Regions from separate parts of the Homo sapiens genome. Here region 2 is linked to region 1. Evidence: promoter capture Hi-C in human tissues and cell types (Jung and others, 2019). All regions are on one chromosome and are shown on one strand. Each heading gives the region's core, a stretch centred on a gene start or on the middle of the fragment in contact. The rest is flanking DNA. Distances are from core to core; before and after follow the strand shown.

Region 1 (7,566 bases), core at 2,735-5,234:
TGTTTCTTGTGAATAATTTAAATAATAATTGTTATATCTTTGAATACCATTATTTTGCTTTATGAGGCAACTCATATGGCAACTCAAAAGGTACCAAAGCAAGAAGCAAAATCATTCATTCATTTTTTTTTTAAATGTACTGAACACCCACTAGGAGCCAGGCATTCTGAGCATGGAAAAATCAAAGACACATTTCCTTCTCTCAGAGTTTATGTTAATCCAGCAAGTAAGAGAACAATTAACCAATTACAAAATATAAATATTATGACTGATAGGAATATGTATTGGTGCAAATAGCTCAGATGAAGTAAAACCAGAGAAAATGTCCTGAACAAGGTAATATATAAGCTTAGATCAAAAAATTGAGGCAGGTGGATCGCCTGAAGTCAGGAGTTCGAGGCCAGCCTGACCAACATGGAGAAACCCCATCTCTACTAAAAATACAAAATTAGCCGGGTGTGGTGGTGCATGCCTGTAATCCCAGCTACTCGGGAGGCTGAGGCAGGAGAATCGTTTGAACCCGGGAGGTGGAGGTTATGGTGAGTCAAGAACGCACCATTGCACTCCAGCGTGGGCAACAAGAGCAAAACTCTGTCTCAAAAAAAAAAAAAATCAAACAAAAAAACACACTAAGGTCAGAACTAGCCATACCTGAGATGGGGCTAAGAAGTGTTCCAAAGATAAACAGTAGGGGGTAACAAAATGAATTCTGGGGAGGGTGGAGGATAGAAGAGAGAAGAAGGTGAAGGGGAAGTACAGAGAAGTTGACACAAGATGAATCTAAAAAGATGACACAGGAACCAGATCACAAAGGACTTGGTAAGATATGTTTGTTTGAGAATGTGGACTTTATCCTAAGGCAATAGGAAACAACTAAAGGTATTAATTAGAAAGATTACCATGTTCATGTTCAAATCTTCAAATCAGTAAATAATATGACTGAAGCGAAGAACAGATTGAAATGAGATGCCATGGAAGGCAGGAAAAGGAGAGAGGCTCCTGTCTTGTACTAAACATGTCCAAATACCAAATACATTGATACATAAACTTACTATGAGACTTATCAGGTGATACAATGTTCAAGGAGATGAGTACTTCCTTTCCTAGGGTTGAGTGTGTATTTTCAAAAGATTGGATGTAGCTTTACAGTGACAAAAGGGAAGCGTCTCTCTAAAGGTGTCTTGGACTAGAGATGGTGGCATGTTCTAGGATTGTGGTAACTGGTATAGAAAGAAAAATGATCAGCTGGAGAAAGATTAGAAAGGCAGAATATACAGGATTGGATTTGGTAACTGGCTGGACATGGGGTGTGGGAGGAAAAGGGAAGTCAAAGAACATTCTCAAATTTCTTGACCAGACAATTGAGGGAATAATGGTACTAACTTACTATTTCCCATCTGTTGGAAATTCTGGTGGAAATGTCCTAAAAATATTACAGTTTCTCTTCAGTTATGCATATGAAATAAACAGTGCAAAAAATATTTTAGATTTGATTTTAGCATATGATTTTTATCTCCTGGGCTATTTTCCACCTATTTTACGTAAAATAGTATTAAAATGAGTCTGCACCAACAGGAGAGAAAGGAAGTTTAGTTAGCACAGAACTGTGCTTCGTGCATGGAGAAGGCCAGCTTGAAACTAAAATTTGCCATTCAAAGAAATCCACAGGTGAAAAAGTCAAGAATTGACACTATCCCCAAAACACACAAGTGTCTCAAAATGTTTTCCTTGGGCTTACTACTGAGCCCAAGGAAACTAAGCACAGAAATAGCTCTTCCATAAAAACATGACAGGCTTTTAAAAAAGTGAACGAGAAAAAAATCCACAGAAAAAGAGTGCTACTCTTTGAAACACAACATCCAGAACAAAAGACAGTACCTTCAAAACCCACTCAGTCATTGAGAAATATTAACTGTCCTAAAATTCCGTAAAGAGATTAGTGTTGGCTGGGCGCGGTGGCTCACGCCTGTAATCCCAGCACTTTGGGAGGCCAAGGCCGGCGGATCACGAGGTAAGGAGATCGAGACCATCCTGGCTAACACGGTGAAACCCGTCTCTACTAAAAATACAAAAAACTAGCCAGGTGTGGTGGCGGGTGCCTGTGGTCCCAGCTACTTGGGAGGCTGAGGCAGGAGGATGGCCTGAACCCGGGATGCGGAGCTTGCAGTGAGCCGAGATCTCGCCACTGCACTCCAGCCTGGGCTACAGAGCCAGATTCCTTCTCAAAAAAAAAAAAAGAGATTAGCGTTGCCCGAAAATTAGGTTCTTTTTAAACACTTTCATTTTGTCTTTATAAAGCTACATCCAATCCTGTGAAAATGCACAGGTTGCTCTAAGAAAAGAAGTACTCATCTCCTTAAACACTATTACCTGATAAATGTTATATTAAGTTTACATATCAATGCATTTACAATGTATATATTCATGCATTTATATGGGAGGTAACAAATTAGAAGATACACCTTTCTATATTTGCAAAAATGTAAAATGTCACTTGTATTCTCTCAAGGCAGTTTTATTTAAAAAAAAATTTCCTCACATTGAATAGATTATAAAATAAAAATCAGATGCCCCATACTACGGTACCTAGCAACCCCCTTCACCCAACTCCCATGGGCTTCTCCCACACACTATTTCATCAGTCATCTAGGGAGTCTGTAAGGAATGGGTTATCCTTTCCCTTGCAAAACAGATAAAACTTGTGCACTTAATACGCTCAAAGAATGTGTTCAGTTAATTATAAAAAAATGAAAACTATTTGTTTTCATCATTTATTCCTTCAGTCTATATGGTAAAAGAATCCAATTCTCATTAAAAGTTACCATATCAACTCTAAGGAACTTGGTGAATCCATCCGATCACTATCACAGAGGAACTATCCCTTAATTACATGTACAGAGGGTCACCAAATTCCGCTTACAAAAGCTTTCCAACCATTCTATCATACCGGAGGAAAAAGTAATGTTTCTCCTATAGCTATACAAATAAATGTCGTTAGTTTTTCTATAGTTTTCCTGGGCTTTCCTGTTGACAGGCAATATTTCAAAAGAATATAAGATCTGTGATTTATCTTCCACGCCTTAGTTACGGAAAATGATGCTAATACGATAATTGGCTTAAGGTTACAACGCTGACGTTGGAATGTTTACTGCCAAACAAAAGGAGAAATTATACTTAATTTTAAAAAACATCTCAGGAAAGAACATACCCCTAAAAACGTAAATTAAAACTGGTAACATAATTAGACGGTCTCTTAGATAATAGTAATTCAGGTTTCCCCTCCATCGACAGTAACTACCAAGTTTTCCCATGAAATGGAGGTTAGGGACCAGCCTTAGAATACTGAGAAAGATAAGAGACTCCCCTAGAATCGAAAGAGGGAAGAGAAACCAGAGAACAGAAACATGGTGAGGAAAGAGAAAAAACAGCTCTAACGTGCCAAGGGGTCTATTAACAAGAAAAAGGCATTATTGAACCGATTTACCCAGGAGTAACCCGAGCCCAAACCCCCGCCGACCACGGGGCGAACTCCGAAGTCTACTGAAGAAAGCTCCAGAGCCCAGTGACAATGAGAACCGCTCTTCTCTAGGAGTGGGGGCTCTAAGAGGAGACCATGCCTTCCCTGAATCGCCTTCCAGTTTGCTCGTCAGGAGCAAGACCCACCTGGAGACCGCCATGGCCGGGCGCCGGCGGTTCGGAGCTCCCCGCGACCTACGCGCCGCGCAGCTGAGGCGCTAGTTTCCAGAGAGCTGAGCGGCGCAGGCCCAGGCCGCGGAGCACAGGGGAGCGGCCGGTGCGGCGTGGGGCGTTCCAGCGCAGGCCCTCGGGCATCTGCCCTGCCGCCTACCCGAGCTCGTCCCCGCGGCGGCCGGTAAGCAGGGGTCCAAGACGGTAGCGGAGGCGGCAGTCCTCCGACCCGCACGACTTCAAACCGGGTACCCTCAGCTCCGCTCTTTGCTGACGCGGGCGTCGGCACGCACAACTGAGCGTCAGCGCGCCGGAAGTGACGTAAGCTCACCGACAGGAGCTTAGCTCGGCGCGAGCGCCTTTGGTTTGGCGGCACGCGCCTAAATAAAAGCGCTTTGTGCTGATGTGGAGAGGGTGTCTAGTCTTAAAACTAGGGAAGGAGGTGAAGTAAGGGTCCCCTTATTTGACAGAGAAGGAAAAAGGCGATTTAGTCCAAGTCCTGGAACTTCGAAAGCTTGGTTTCTAATTCCACACTACCCAGATTCTGCTTCCCACCGTACTGCATCTAGGAAGCAAGATCAGAAGGACCTTAACATGCTCTTGTCCAGGTGGTGAAGCCAGTGGGAGGAGTGAAAGCAAAAAGTCGCTATGACACTGAAGAAATGGCTCAGATGTTTGTCATTATTTGCCAGAAGTTCTGCCTAGGTATTGGAGAGAAGGTCTTCTGACCAACGATTTTGCCAAGTTTGATTTCTCAATTGTTTATGTTGTTTGTACCATCATTTTCTCAGCCAGCCAGATTTGAAAACTACCATTTTTAAATTTTTGTTCCTTTGGGGGACTTATCTGGCTTTTCAATATTTTTAAGTTCATTAGGCTTTTAAACACTTCTGCCAGGCCCTTATCATCTTACACTTGATTTTTTTTTTTTGACCGAGTTTCGCTCTGTCGCCCAGGCTGGAGTGCAGTGGCGCGATCTCGGCTCACTGCCAACCTGCGCTTACCGGGTTCAAGCGATTCTAAATGTGCCTCAACCTCCCGAGTAGCTGGGAGGCACACGAGCCCCACGCCGGGCCAATTTTTTGTATTTTTTAGTAGAGACGGGGTTTCGCCATGTAGGCCAGGCTTGTCTCCTGCTCCTGGCCTCAAGTGATCTGCCCGCCTCGGCCTCCCAAAGTGCTGGGATTACAGGTGTGAGCCACTGCGCCCGGCCCTTAAACTTGATTTTTATGCTAGTAGTCAAAATAATATTTCTCCAATTTTCAGTTCAGCCCATTTTATAGGCCAACAGATTAATCTTCAAAAAACCTCACTGCTTTTTATCATGTCGCTCCTATGCTTATAAAGCATGTCCATTGGCTTCTCATTACCTGAAGAGGCTATGTCTCAATCCTTGAGTCTGTTTTTCATCTGTAAAATGAGGCTAATGAGAAGTACTGCAGAAGATTGTGGGAATAAAATGAGGTCATGAATCTAGAAGAGCTTACAAGAACTTTGTAAACCATAAAGTAGTATATATGTATGTAAAGAGAAAGAAACTAACAAGTACCTGCTGTGTGCTGGGCACATGACATGCATTATCCATATAATTTGTAGGGAAGCCTTGAAAAGTTAGTTTTAATCTTCGTAGACAAGGAAACTAAGCTCAGAAAGGTTAAGTAATTTGCCTCAAGATTCAAGCTAGTAATAATATTTATTGTCCAGTCATTCAACAAATGTTTGTCACCTCTCTGTATCAGAAACTCTGCTTGGCGGTGTTCATGCTATTAAAATCTAATCAAGTTGATGTTCAAGATATCTTTACATTTTCACTTTAGTCACCTACTTGCCTCATCAGTTTATCTCCCACCATTCAATAACAAGCAGATACTTTTTACTGATCGTGTACAGCAATCATTTAGCCAAAATTAAGCACCTACCATATGAGAGACTGGAACTTCTGAAGAAACCAGAACAGACAAGGTGCCTACTCTGGTTGAATTTACATTAAAAGGAAAGGAAAAAGAAAATAGATAAACATTGAAAATATATTTATGTGCTATGTAAAGAGAATGATGGAATTAATGGTATGATTAAAGACCTACTCTTACTGGGTAAATCAGGGAAAAACAGGATTAGCTTAAGCTGAGCCCTAAATGACAAGAGGTAGCTAAATGTGTGACAATCTGGGAGCCTTCCAGGAAGAGGGTATACGTAGTGCAAAGGCGTAAGAGAAGTCTGCTCTGTTGGGAAATGAGATGGGAGAAGTAGAAAGGGATCATCGTAAGGAATTTGGACTTTGCTCCATATGAAGTAGAAAGTCATAGAGTTTTAAGCAAGTGAGTAAAATGATCTTAGTTATATTTTTTAAATCTTTTTATTATCAGATAATTGGGTATATAGTCTAAATGGCATTAGAAGAGAGGAAAGGACTGGTGGTGTAGATTTGTAAAGGATAGTGTAATAATCAAATATATTGATATTGGACCGGCTTGTTTTTAAATCCTTTCTCACCACACTGAATCGCAGTGTCTCCAGGGGGAATTTTAGAACCTCTCTAAGCTTCATCTGGGAAATGAGGATAATAATAGTACTCATAGGGTTGCGGTGATGATTAAATTAATGCACATAAAACATTTAACCAAGTGACTGCCACGAGAAGCCCTCAAAAATATTATTAACTACATTGCTTACTGTTTTTGTTAACAATGGAAACTTGAGTAAGTGGCAATTTCTAGTCTCAATTTATTCAGCTGTGAAACGGGGATAATAATAGTACCAGTTCACCACCGTTATCTATACCAGTTCATCACCCCTGCCAGATGGTTTTCTGAGTTAAGAATTATTTAGGTTTTGAAAAGAAATCCAATGAATATACCTTGTATTATGCAGCATCCCAACAGCTTGTAGGGCAGTACTCTATAATCAAATATATTTATAGAGCTGCAGCAAAATGTATGACTAACCATACTAAGAGGAATAAGTAAAAGACTATAGATAGGCATATGCCAGTTCAGGCCAGGATTTGCTGCCAAATATATATATTTTGAGATGGCATTTTGCTGTTTCCAAGGCTGGTCTTGAACTCCTGGGCTCAAGCAGTCCTCCCATCTCAGCCTCATGAGTAGCTGGGACTATAGGTGAGTTTTTAAAAGTGTGGTTTTCAGACCATTTTCAATTTCAGAATTGTAAATAATAGATCATGAACCTGTACTTATAGAATTGTCATAAGGAAGAAATGAGTTCATACATGACACACTTAGAAAATACTAAGTATTAGCCAGGTGTGATAGTTCATGCCTGTCATCCCAGCACGTTGAGAGGCTGATGTGGGAGGATCGCTTGAGCCCAGGAATTCGAGACCAACCTGGGCAACATAGGGAGACCTCATGTCTACAAAAAAAATTTTTTTTAATTAGGCTGGGTGCGGTGGCTCATGCCTGTAATCCCAGCACTTTGGGAGGCCAAGGCAGGCAGATCATGAGGTCAGGAGATGGAGACCATCCTGGCTAACACAGTGAAACCCAGTCTCTATGAAAAATACAAAAAATTAACCGGGCATGGTGGCGGGCACCTGTAGTCCCAGCTACGCGGGAGGCTGAGGCAGGAGAATGGCATGAACCTGGGAGGCAGAGCTTGCAGTGAGCCAAGATCACGCCACTGCACTCCAGCCTGGGTGATGGAGCAAGATTCCGTCTCAAAAAAAAAAAAAAAAAAAAAGCCAGCTGTTGGTGGCATGTGCCTATAATCTTGGCTACTCAGGAGGCTAAGGTGGGAGGATCCCTTGAGCCCAGGAACTTGAGGCAACAGTAAGCCATGATCATGCTACTCTACTCTAGCCTGGGTGACAGAAGGAGACCCTGTTTCAATGAAAAGAAAAGACTAAGTATTAAATAAATA
Region 2 (7,566 bases), core at 2,060-4,559, 910 kb after region 1:
AAGGAGTAAGATGCAATATGACATCTCAAAAACTATACTCCCCATAAAAATGGTACTTTATCACCCAGAAGCCAAACCCCATGACCCATTTATACAGTTCTGACATCCAGTCTTCCCTTTCTGTCAATTCTTCATTAAAATGCTCTTCTTAGTCTGTGCACTAACCCTATTCTAGACCTTCATCTCACAGTCAGCACCAGGCTTCCATCTTCTCTTCCCGCTCCACTCACCCTCATACTCCAATGCCTTTCTTCAAATGAGCACCAGAGTGATTTTCTTAGAAGACCACTTTGAACATTTCAGTATCTTGCTTAGAGGCTTTTAAAGCCTCCCTCTTGCCTGCAAGGTAAGGTTCAGACTTCCTAACCTGACAGTCATGACCTGTTTCAATCTGGTCCTATCTAGACTTAACTCCTTGTCCTTCCTATATGATGAACCCTCTGCTCTGGCTGGCTGGTCTCCTTCATCCTCCAAATAGCTCCATCACTTTTCAGCTGCTTCTCCTCCTTGACGGACACTTTCCTTTTTTTCAGGCTTAGACCCAGCTCCTCCTGCTCCACCCAGCTTCTATAACTCTAGACCACTGCTATCTTTTAAACTCAAGCTGTTTCTTACATCCAGGTCAAGTATTTGGGCAGTTAACCCCAGTTTGCTTTAGGACAGTTTTGTTTTCACATATGTATTTATGTTTGTCTCGGCATTTAAGGTTATTATTTTCCTAATGTATGTTACATAGATATTAGTTCCTGCAGCTGCCCAAAACAAAAAAGTTAATTGTGTTTGAATAATTTTAGAATTATTTGGGGTATGCTTTAGGAAAGACTGCATACCATACCCCTCTCTAGAAGGTTCACATTGTGTGTGAGCATAGTAAAAGATCTGAAAAGTGCTGTGCCAATTAAAACAGCTTGATTATTTTCTGATTCTTAATTACCAAGAAAATCTTTTTGTCTTATAATAATATTAATATTCCTCAGATTTTAGTGCTCCTCAGAGGAGTCTTTGGAAAGCATGGAATTAAATTAGAAACTCCTTACCCATCATTTTAATCCTACCATGGTGGCTAGCCCAGTGACTTAGTACTTAGAAGGTGCTCAGGGAATATTTGGGGATTTGGTGAATAATCACGAATGTTTTAGTCAATTACTGAGCTAAACTCTTCTAAGAGTTTCTTTCTGTGCAGTCTTTAGAATGCTGTAAAACAAATAAATAACCTTGCTTCCATTTCTTATTAAATTTATTGGCACTAGACTGTGAAACTAATGGAATTTCTGGGTCTTCTATATGCTTCTGTGTCTGCTTGAGAAAGATAATCTGTGCTTGTACACAGTGGGAACATAAAAACTTCACAGAATTTTCCACTCCCAGCACACCAGACCCAGGGTTGGCTTCTTGTCATTTAAATGCCTGCCTTGTCATTTTATTTGACTCAGAGAAATCATTCAGAGAGAAGCTCAGGAACCGTCTGGACTCCCTGAAAAGGAACTGACTCAGAACTTTTCTACAGATGAATTATATTTCTAGGTCTCATTGTTTTTCACATTTGTGGGTTTGGATGTGCTTTTACCAGCATGTTGGATAGAAAAAGTAATGGCGGTTTGAATCCGAATCTGAGATAGCAAAAGAAAAATAACTGCAATTAGTTCAACAGCTAAAATTTTGGTAGACTTACTAGTAACTCAAAAGGTTGACCTCAGAATTCAAAAGTAAGAGTAAAAATTTGAACCTAAACTTTGACCTTGGAATTCAAAAATGAAAGGAGATTTTAGAGAGGCTTGACAATAAGTTAGTGATTTTTTAAAATGTTAGTATAACTTTTTTTCTTAAAAATTTTAATGGGTTGGGAAGCTGCGGCAGGTGGATCACCTGAGGTCAGAGGTTTGAGATCAGCATGGCCAACTTGGTGAAACCCCGTCTCTGCTAAAAATACAAAAATTAGCTGGGCGTGGTGGCAAGTGCCTGTAATTGCAGCTACTCAGGAGGCTGAAGCAGGAGAATCACTTGAACCCGGGAGGCAGAGGTTGCAGTGAGCCAAGATCACGCCACTCCACTACAGCCTGGGTGACAGAGCAAGACTTCATCTCAAAAGAAAAAAAATTCATGGATTAATGTAAATATAGATATAAAAATAAATTATATACATTATATTATGCATATTACCACATTATACAATACATAATGTATTATCTATGTATTATTGTGTATATATATATATGGAAGAGTATAGAGCAAAACCTTTCCTTCCCAAGTCTGTCTCCCACCACTCAGCCCTCCCCAGAGGCATCCCTTTCTAAAAGATGCTTTTAAGCCTTCTAGAGATACACTGTGCATATCTAAGTATATGTTTATGCAATACCAAATGGCGTTATACAATTTACACTTCTTAACCTTGCTCTTAATATATATATATAGGAGAGGCGTTCTTTTCAGTAGGTATGGAGCTGCTTCTTTTTTTATTGCTTCAGTGGATGCCATTGTTTGGGTCTATTATCATTTATTTTATTTCCATATTAATGGACATTTAGATTATTTCAAATCATCTGCTATTATAAATGATGCTATAATGAATATTCTTATATACACATGTGTGTATATATATGTCCTTTCACAAGTGTGAATAAGGGTAGGTAATGAATTCTTAGATTTAGAAATGTCTAGGTCAAGGCATATATGTATTTTTTATTTTAATGGATCCTGCCAATTTGCACTCCTTAGCAGTCGTGCCAACTTAAAATTTCACCACCAATGTATGACAGTGCCAAGTTCCCAACACCTTTGCCTACACAGTGTATTATATATATGAAGTTCTTGTTAACTTTTCCTATATTATAGGTGAAAAACATTGTTTATAAATTGGATTTCTCACATGCTAAGTGAAGTCAAGCATTTTTATAGGTAGAAACCTATAATATTTCCTCTTCTGAGAATTATGCATATTCTTTGTTCATGTTCCTTTGGATGTTGTCTCATTGTTGATTCATGGGAACTCTTTATATACAGTCTGTGATACAGGTTGAAATAATTGACTTTAATTTCCAGTGCTAGTTCCTGAAAAAGACATTAGGCTATGATCTTTTCCAAAGTGACTCTCTCCTCAACCCTGACTTCTTAAAGATATACAATAGAAATGACTTCAGGGAAGATCAGTTTGCTTCCTTCTAGCTCGGCTTCATAAAAATTTTCCCAACAAAGCAAAACTAAACTTACATATCAGTACGTTCTGTATTATCTTTCCAAACTTAGCCAGTGGATTTAATGGGAATTGCTTTTCTGGGAAATGGTATCCTCCCATGACTTGTTTACATTCTAGCACAAGTAGGCTGCATACCCACCATGGCTGGTAGGATTTATTCAAATAACCTACCATTCCTTCTAGACCAGAGGTTACAAATTGGCCACCCAAGGGCCAAATGCAGCCACATATGTTTTATTTGGCCAGCCTGCTGTTTAGAAAAAAAACGAATTTGTTGCCCACATTAAAGAACAGTGGATGATTTTACAGGAATATCTAGATTTCTGACTTCTCTTGAAAAATCACAAGATCAGGAACATTGCATTTCCACATGACAACAGTTGGCTGGAGCTTGTGGGAATCTGCCCCGTTCATAAACCATGCACTTCCATACATTTTTTTAAGTTTTTTAGAAATAAAAATAGAGACGAGGTCTCACTGTATTATCCAGCTGATCTCAAACTCCTGAGCTCAAGCGATCCTCCCACCTCAGCCTCCCAAAGCATTAGGATTACAAGCATGAGCCTCTGCCACCTGGCCTCCATGTTTTGTTTTGTGGTTTTTGTTTTTGTTTTTGTTTTTTTGACACAGAGTCTCACTCTGTCACCCAGGCCAGAATACAATAGTGTGATCTTGGCTCACTGGAACCTCCACCTCCTGGGTTCAAGCGATTCTTCTGCCTCAGCCTCCTGAGTAGCTGGGATTACAGGCGCCTGCCACCATGCCTGACTAATTTTTGTATTTTTAGTAGAGATGGGTTTTCACCATGTTGTCCAGGCTGGTCTCAAACTCCTGACCTCAGGTGATCTGCCTGCTCGGCTTCCCAAAATGCTGGGAACAGGCCTGAGCCATGGTGCCCAGTCTGTTTTATGGGTTTGTTTGTTTGTTTGTTTTTTGAGACAGGCTCTCACTCTGTCACCCAGGCTGGAGTGCAGTGGCATGAACACAGCTCACTGCCACCTTGACCTCCCAGGCTCTGTTGATCCTCCCACTTCAGCCTCCCAAATAGCTGGGACCACAGACATGTGCCATCACACCTGGCTAGTTTTTGTATTTTTTGGTAGAGACAGAGTTTCACCATATTGCCCAGGCTAGTCTCAAACTCCTGGGCTCAAATGATCCTCCCGCCTTGGCCTCCCAAATTGCTGAGATCACCTCCATGTTCTTAAAGCAAGTCTGCTTTATTTATTTGTCACCTGCTGCTGGCTCCTGGAGATCTTTGCCTTTGGGAACCTCTAAGCCTTTGCTTCCAGAATTTTCCTCTGTCTCTCCCCTTCAATTACAAGAAGAAAGAAAAATCCTCCCAGGTGTCACATCTCTTTCAGACTCAGGTCTTTTCCACTTCTCTACCCCAGGCTCCTGCCCTTTCTTCTTTGAAAAGCTCGTTTCCTGCATCCCAGAGTGTTTACTTGCACTTTGTCCCATGTCCTCACACTTCCCTTTCAGCATTTTCCTTAGCAATTCAGCCTATACTTTCCAAAATAATTTGGGATGAGAAAAGTCTGCTCCACTAGGGCATGAATTTTAACACAGTTAAACAGACTCTAACAAAGTTTTGAGAAAGATGAATGAAACTTAGTTTTGAAGCTCCTTTTGGGCACTAATGAATGCTTTAACATGAAAATGTTTTCTAGGATGGAGTATATCGACCCAGGATTGGTTTGCTCCTCTTCGTCCCAATTGCCTCTCTCTTAGTTCAAGTTCTGGTCAGCTTCCACCCGAACTATGACCTCAGCCTCATAATGAATCTCCATGTTGCCAGTCTCTATTCTTCAGTTCTATTTGTGACATAATTTTTTAAAGCTTGAACATGAATCTTATCTTATCAACCCCCATTTCTCTTAACAACCTTTGATGATTCCCTGTTACCTAGAGGAGATGCCTCATACCAACAAGACTCACAAAGTCTTTTAGAATCGGGCCCTAGGACCTTATTTTCGACCCATTTGTAAACCTGGTGGCCCAACTACATCAGACTCTTCTCTATTCTCTGAGACCACCAAGAACATGATGTCCACATGCTGCTGCAAATGGTGCTCCCTTTAATTGAAATGCTGTATTTCTGCTCTTTTATCTAGCATGTCCTTATTTTTCCTTCAAAATCCAAGGCAATGTCATGTCCTCTGTGGAATCTTCCATCTTCTCCTACTTGGTTCCTCCCTCATCTGTATTTCTGTAATACTTCTCATAATTATTTAAGATGTTTTTCTCCCTCATTAGACTGTAAGCTCTTGGAGGGCATGAAGCTTATTTATCTTACAAGGATCAGTCACAGTGTCTGATATATAGTGAGTGTTCACTAAATGCTTAGTGACTGAAAGAAGAAGCCATTAACACCTTAACTCAGGGGTCCCCAACCCCCAGGCCACAGACCAGTACTGGTCCGTGACCTGTTAGGAACTGGGCCACACAGCAGGAGGTGAGTGGCAGGTGAGCTTCATCTGTATTTACAGCCACTCCTCATTGCTCGCACCACCTGAGCTTCACCTCCTGTCAGATCAGAGGTAGCATTAGATTCTTATAGGAGCACAAACCCTATTGTCAACTGTGTATGAGAGGGATTTAGGTTGCACACTACCTTGTGAGAATCTAATGCCTGATGACCTGTCACTGTCTTCCATCACCCCCAGATGGGACCGCTGAGTTGCAGGAAAACAAGCTCAGGGCTCCCACTGATTCTACGTTATGGTGAGTTGTATAATTATTTCATTATATATTATAATGTAATAATAATAGAAACAAAGTGCACAATAAATGTAATGTGCTTGAATCATCCCGAAACCATCCCCCACCCGTGAAAATTGTCTTTCATGAAACTGGTCTCTGGTGACAGAAAGGTTGGGAACTGCTGCCTTAACCCCTATGACTAGGCAGTTAGTCATTTGGTAGCTTCTAGAAAGTACGTTGTCCTCTTTTTTCAGTGAGCAGTATCTTCCTAACTGTAAACCTGATCAAGCCACTAATTTCAATTGTTTTCCACTGACCCCGATGTAAAGACATAGTCTTACATAGTTCCTCATCATGGTGTACATCATCCTTCATGATCTGTTCCTTTACCTACCATTCCAGCTTCAGTTGTTGTCATCCTCCAACTTTTCTCCAACTATACTGAAACATTTCAATGCCCTGAAGCAAACCCTACTCTCTAAGTCTGAGCCTTAGCATTTGCTCCTTGCTCTGCCTAGAAGGTCTTTCCTGCCTTTTCCTTCTCCTCCATGGCTGTACATGCAGGACAGACAGATTGAAGGAGGCCTCTCTGAGTTCTTTTGCCTTGGACTGGACTAGGCTAAGTGCTCTTCATGTCCTCCCATGGCACTTATCATGCTGTGATCTCTGTCTCTGCTGTAGTCCCAGCTCTACCCCCACTCTAAGCTCCTCTGGGACAAAAATTGTCTTTTTCACCTTTTTACCAATGATGGGTGCATAGGCTATGGCATAAACTAGATGTTCAATAAATGTCTGATGAGTAAAACATCATGATAAAGTGAAAGAAATCTGATATATACAATTTACGCAACTATGTGAATGCTTAACTCTCTCATTTGCCATTTGAAGAGATTCTTTTAAAATTAATATATGCAATAGTCAGCATAGTCAAGAAATAGAAATCCTGCTAGGTATTTCAAACAGAGGGGATTTAATACAGGGAATTTTTTCACAGATGTTGGAAGGCTGGAAGAGCAAAACAGGAAGTTGAAGCAACTGGTTATTAATACTTGTTGGAAGAAGTTATTTCCCCCAGGGCTGAGGTAAAGCAGCTACCACCCTGAGGACACTAGACAAAAAGTGAGATTACCAGAACCTAGTTGCTCAGAAGGAGAAAGGGAAAGAAATTCAACCATATTAAAGACACACATGATTGTAGGATACATCCCAATGCCAAAAATGTTAAAATGTAAAGGAAAAAAAAGACATGGTATTAACTGATAGACTGTCAAGAATATGAAAGAAATCCAGGCTGGCTAGGGGAATCTAGTACGTTTAGTCATATGAAATTGTGAATATTTTTCCATTTTGGCCTATATAAATGAGTTTCATATGTTTCAACCTAATATTTGGGGAGGCAAGAGGCTAACTGTAGAGTACCCTTGTCCTGGGCTTCTATCTCTCCGAGGTCCATTGTCCTGAGCTGTCCCTTCTCTTCATAGCTTCACCCACTCTCCTTCTGAAATTCATGGTAATAAGTTTATATGTGCTCAGGGGCTGGAGGACTTGAGGGCAGTGCAAAAACAACCATTTGAAAACATTAGTAATTTTAAAGTCAGATATTCTTAAGAAGGGGTTACATAAGTACAAAAAAGAACAAGTAGCATTTTATTGAATGTTTACAATCC

Evidence for each region. The method cuts DNA at HindIII sites, captures the fragments that hold promoters and counts their contacts. A contact is called where the count stands out against the background at its distance.
Region 2: a contact is called between a fragment that was not itself captured here and the fragment with the promoter of BTAF1 in region 1, in 1 of the 25 tissues and cell types used here (dorsolateral prefrontal cortex).

The regions. Positions count from the first base shown.
Region 1 is chr10:91,920,188-91,927,753 of GRCh38, reverse strand. It overlaps BTAF1 (B-TFIID TATA-box binding protein associated factor 1), which reads right to left and starts at 3,984. Exons shown (of 38, transcript NM_003972.3): 1 at 3,664-3,984. The coding sequence starts at 3,677. RefSeq lists enhancers at 3,442-3,641, 4,252-4,361, 4,709-5,242 and a silencer at 3,702-4,001. The HindIII fragment of the contact is 3,578 bases long and covers 1,638-5,215 here.
Region 2 is chr10:91,011,268-91,018,833 of GRCh38, reverse strand. The region is part of intron 1 of LOC124902479 (a long non-coding RNA gene); the gene reads left to right. Among named protein-coding and RNA genes, the nearest start is that of LINC00502, 31 kb to the left of the region's middle. The HindIII fragment of the contact is 3,896 bases long and covers 1,362-5,257 here.